Linked DNA regions of Homo sapiens: region 1 is linked to region 2. The links are contacts of gene promoters, found by promoter capture Hi-C in blood cells and fetal thymus (Javierre and others, 2016). All regions are on one chromosome and are shown on one strand. Each heading gives the region's core, a stretch centred on a gene start or on the middle of the fragment in contact. The rest is flanking DNA. Distances are from core to core; before and after follow the strand shown.

What was found. Contacts are between HindIII fragments. The CHiCAGO score rates a contact against its expected background, and 5 or more counts as called.
Region 1: a contact is called between a fragment that was not itself captured here and the fragment with the promoter of SMIM30 in region 2, in 1 of 17 cell types (naive CD4 T cells). The highest score is 5.2, in naive CD4 T cells.

Annotation. Positions count from the first base shown.
Region 1 is chr7:112,426,665-112,429,443 of GRCh38, reverse strand. It overlaps LOC105375457 (a long non-coding RNA gene), which reads left to right. Exons shown (of 3, transcript XR_001745325.2): 3 at 1-2,779. It also overlaps a transcript of IFRD1 not described here. Among named protein-coding and RNA genes, the nearest start is that of IFRD1, 22 kb to the left of the region's middle. The HindIII fragment of the contact is 593 bases long and covers 1,168-1,760 here.
Region 2 is chr7:113,117,160-113,119,859 of GRCh38, reverse strand. It overlaps SMIM30 (small integral membrane protein 30), which reads left to right and starts at 1,306. Exons shown (of 3, transcript NM_001352688.2): 1 at 1,306-1,332; 2 at 1,699-1,792; 3 at 2,253-2,700. The coding sequence starts at 2,282. The coding sequence ends at 2,461. The region is part of intron 2 of LOC107986837; the gene reads right to left. RefSeq lists enhancers at 907-1,046, 941-1,535. The HindIII fragment of the contact is 11,880 bases long and covers 1-2,700 here.

The DNA.
Region 1 (2,779 bases), core at 215-2,714, 690 kb after region 2:
ATATTGGAACTATTGAATAACTGATGTTCAAAGATTTATACATCTGAATGAACATTCTAGAGTGCAAATTGCCTTTGACTTAACGTGACCAAAAACAGAATTCTAAAGTGTAATCACATGCTGGATGTGCCCAACGACTATGATACAGAGTGATGTGTGCATAGGCCAGTGGTTTCTTTAGGTACAAGACATGCCAAACACAACTGAATAGCCAGGTTTGAGATTAGGCAAGTGTTTTAAAGTAGAAAAAGCCACAATTGGGATAAAAACAAAGCAAGAATATGGGAGACAAACAAGAAAGTACAACGGAGTAATTGCAACTAAGGCAACTCAATTGGTAGATAGGTCTAAGAACCAAAGAGTTCAAACATTTGTAAATTATTTTCCTGCTTTTGGACAGACAGGTCAAAGTTACTTTTCTGAACTAGAAAGATTTGTAGGGAGATGAATTTTAGAGGCAGTAAAGGGCCACCCCAAAGTAAAACTGTCAAGTTAATAAAGTCTGTTGTCATGATGACAATAGCTTTTGAGAAGAGGATTGACATGATGTCAACGTTTTGTTTTGAGGAAGATTAATCTACTGGTAATAAGAAAGATGACTTGAAAGGGGACGGGCAGGGTGGATTCAGGTTTTGTGTGTCTGAAGCTAATACCAGCTTTAAAAGGGTAGGGGCTCTGTTTAAGAAAAAGAATACAGATTCAAGTATACAAAATTTGCTAGGGCCCTTCCCAGAGCCTTTGAATGGCTTCATGCAAGGAAAGGAGTCTGAAGGTTAAGCTTCCTTACCTTCGATAAGCCACCTCATAAGCAGATGATAGCTAAGCCACTAACAGTGTCACCCTCATCTTGCCAGCCACCCAAGTGAGACCCCCAGGAGTCATCTTTTATCCTTCATCCTATTTCCTCTTCAGTCACCAAGCCATGCCCATTTAATTTCCTAAGTATTTCTCAAGTTCATTTATTTCTTCATTCTTCATTCCAGTACCTTAGATCTACCTGTCACTGCCTCTTAACTACTCCATTGCAAATAGCTTTTCCAAACTCGTTCCCTGTTTCCACCCTGTTTACCTCCTAGAAACCTATCCTTCACCCAGCCGCTCAGAATACTCTATCTATGGGTAGATCTGATAATCTCACACTTCTGGTTAATACTCTTCATTAAAGCTTCATCAGGAGAAGGCCCAAGCCTCCATAGTATTATAAGCAAAGCCTGTGTGATCTCACCCCTTTGTCAGCTCAGCTCTTGACACCCTTGCTTTGCACTTCTCACATGTCAGCACAATACTGCATTTCTGGCAAATGCCTTGAAAGTTTTTACATCTGGGTTTTTGGTTCCTGACTGACCTCTTGGCTGAGAATTATCTCCCTTTTCCCTCATCCCTCCTCCTTCTAAACTCTCTTTACCAGGCTCACCTTTTCCTGGGGGTCTTCATAGAGACCCACCCCTCTGCCCCCATCAAGCTGGTGAGGTGCCCTCCTCTGTAATGACACATACAGTGCTCCATCAAGGCACTCAGCACCCTGTGTTAAAAGGACCTGTTTATAGCTGCCTTTCCCTCTCCTCTCCAGACTGTGATCTCCTTGGGAATAGGAGCCACATCTGATGCATTTTTTTATCCGCAGCACTTCACAGAATGTAGGTCTCACTAGATATTTTTGAATGAGTGAACAAATTAATGATGAAATCAAGCACTACATGAGTTATTCTCTGTGATAGAGCATAGAAAGATAAGAGATAGTTCTGGGGTATGTCTAAGCTTGTGAGTAGGAGAAAGAAAAGAAAGCAATTAAACACAGAAGACAGAATAATCAGTAAAAGGGATCAATAGCTATCGTTTATGTTGTTTTTCTACTTATCATCAAGTTACGTTTCTACAATGAATTCATATTCCTTTTTAAAAATGAAAGAAAGGAGTTTATTAGGGTAATTGCTAAGCTACTGAGACAAAAAGACCACAAAATAGAATGATGAAAATGTAGTGTAAATGTAATTCTCTCACATGTAAAAATCCAGTGGTGATCAGTTTAGGGCTGGCAGAGGAGCACTGCTGTCCTCAACATGCTAGCCCTGCCACCTTAACAGCAATTGCTTCCACTATGGTTTGAACTTTCCCCCAAAGTTCATGTGTTGGAAACTTAATCCCCAATGCAACAGGATTGTGGGGTGAGGCCTAATTGGAGGTGTTTAGGTCATGAGGGCTCTGCCCTAATAAATTGATTAATGTCATTATCTTGAGAGTCGGTTTGTTATGACAGTGAATTCAACCCCCTCTTGCCCACCCTTGTGATGCCTTCTGTCATGTTTTGATTGTAAACCAAAAGTATCTGAGACAGCTCTTGGTCAATTTAGAAAGCTTATTTTGCCAAGGTTAAGGACACACCTGTGTCACAGCCTCAGGAGGTTCTGACGACATGTGCCCAAAGTGATTGGGGTACAGCTTGGTTTTATACATTTTAGGGAGACATGAGACATGAATCAACGTATATAAGATGTACCTTGGTTAGGTCCAGAAAGGCCTGACAACTCAGAGGGGGGCCTCCAGGTAACTGGTAAATTTAAAGGTTTTATGATTGGCATTTGGTTGGAAGAGTTATTATCAATAGAAAGAAATGACTGGGTTACAATAAGAGGTTGTGGAGACTAAGGTTTTATCATGCAGATGATGCCTCCAGGTAGCAGGCTTCAGGGAGAATAGATTGTAAATTCTTATCAGACTCAAAGAGTCTGTTCTATCAGTAATTACAAAAAGGATGAGGGCATAATGAGACATGTGTGGA
Region 2 (2,700 bases), core at 57-2,556:
AAATATAATTGATTACAAAGGCACGAAAGTAGCTCAAAACAAAGGATGAAATGAACAAAACCTTGTTAAAATAATCAAGGTTAGAGAAACAATGCTGACGTTATTGTGCAGTTATTCTCAGATTTCCAATTTTCTAGTCACCTTGGTTTGGTTTATTTGGCACCTCTCGGTCTCTCATAAGATCTTGTTGGCATATTTATCTAGTCAAATCATTATTATTATTAGGCAACATTACTGAGCACCTGCTGGGTGCCGGTTAGGAGCCAAGAATATAAATCTTTGCTAGAGAGACTAGGAACGTGTAAGAAAAAGGGTAACCGACAACACAAGAATACATGCTAATTATTGGCATTGAACTGAACGTACCTGCATTATCTAACAGACTGAACCAGGGGACTTTCAGACCAGGCAGGTGGCTTCACACCCAACCCTCATCATTAATAATTTATAATGTAAGGATAGCAAATAAATTTTCAAATCAGTAAATATGAAAGAGTTCAGAAGATCAGATGACTAGAAAGGTTCAGTAAGGAGTTCACAATTAGCAGACAATTGAAAGAGCGCCTTTCAGAAAGGTTACGACTTACATATACAAATAACTAATTCTTGTTTTATGATTTAAAAGCAGTATTTTTACATCTTTTCACAAATATGTAGGGACATTTGGGGCTGAGGTTTCACAAAAACATAGGTGGGAAGGAATCACCGCAGTGCACTCCTGAATAGATTGTCACTTTAGGACCTGAATCCTGAGAGATCTTCTGCAACAGGGCTAAACCCATTTTTCCTAAACTTTATTTTGCACTACAAATGTTTTTTAACCTTTTACGATATGTCTTATTAACCGCGCTTTTTCCCCATTGACTAAAAAATTAATAAATGGCATATGTTTCATTAGGAAGATGGTGACAGAGATTTCCTGCTTCAGAAACGTTGGAAGCCACTGGTTTAAAAGCACCCGGAACAGAGGGCTGTACTTGGGTTCTCTCTCCCCGCTGTGTCATTTCAGTCGAAGAAAAAGACAAAATTACATGTGCGCCTTACAGACTCAACAGGGTAGAAAACACTTGCTATCATTTCTTTTATTTTGAAGTGAGCTTTTATATAAACACACGAAACCATCTATTTAATAGTAAAACGTTGGGCAGGGAAAGGAAGTCCCGCGCGTTCGCGACTCTTCGCCTCCGCTAGAGCGTGACCGTCACGCCCTCTGCTACTTATAGGGGGAACGCGCCGGGGCATCATAGGAGTCGGCGGCGGCAGGGATTGTGGGAAATGTAGTTTGGAGACTCCGCCCTCCTCGCCATTCCTGTAATGGCTGCTTCCTAGAAGGTAATGTACGAACTCGTCTCCAAAGGATACTTAGGTTGCACCAGTGTATTTGTAAAACAGGAGCAAATTTGGACCTTGCCGGGCCAAAGTACGAATTCTTTTTCAAATCTTAATATCAAGTCCTGAAATGAAATTATCTCTGTTCTGTTTCTTTTTACCTTTTCTTGTGTGGGTGAACTGACCAACTTTTAAGTCTAGTTCCCTGTTGGACAGACTTTTCTCAACTCATTACCTATCCCCCTACCGTCCATATGGCCTCCACGCTCTGCACTGACTCTAGCTGCCTCTTTAAAATAATAATAGTAATAATAATTAATTTTTAAATCCTTCTCTCCGCCCCCTCCCCACCCCCCATGCTAATAATAGGTCGTGTCACGTGGAACCTCTTAATCTCAGCATCCGGAGCTCCAGGAAGGGAAAATTTCAAGTCAGATAGAATTCTATATATACCATTTCTTTGGTAAGTCTTATTAATTCCCCACAACTTCGCAGAGTTATATGTTGTGTGACTTTTGCCAAATTTGTCTGCATTTCTTGGATGGGAGAGACCCTAAGAAAATGTACAATTTTTACCCACTAGGATATTTTAAGTTTCCAAGTTAGTGGCTCGTGCTTTTTTTCTGTTTGTTCTTAATTATGAACTCCTGTTCAATTTTTGTTTGGTTGATGCACGAGGTGTTGGCATTATCGTGGAAAATTCCTGGGTTTAGAGTGTTATCACGAGATAGGGAGATGAACCTCAAATTACTGTCTTTAACGTCCCTCTGTTTTTCCACCTATAAGATGAGGAGATGGATTGGAAATGATTCATAAAGTATCCAAAAGATTGGCTGGCCTGTTATTTGTCATGTGTTCATTTTGTCATTTGAAAAGGGAGGAATTTTTAATGGTTCCTTTTTGTTTCCATGTTTAATTTCTAGGAACCTTCAGCCCTCAAGATTCCAACATCATGACCTCAGTTTCAACACAGTTGTCCTTAGTCCTCATGTCACTGCTTTTGGTGCTGCCTGTTGTGGAAGCAGTAGAAGCCGGTGATGCAATCGCCCTTTTGTTAGGTGTGGTTCTCAGCATTACAGGCATTTGTGCCTGCTTGGGGGTATATGCACGAAAAAGAAATGGACAGATGTGACTTTGAAAGGCCTACTGAGTCAAACCTCACCCTGAAAACCTTTGCGCTTTAGAGGCTAAACCTGAGATTTGGTGTGTGAAAGGTTCCAAGAATCAGTAAATAAGGGAGTTTCACATTTTTCATTGTTTCCATGAAATGGCAACAAACATACATTTATAAATTGAAAAAAAAATGTTTTCTTTACAACAAATAATGCACAGAAAAATGCAGCCTATAATTTGCTAGTTAGGTAGTCAAAG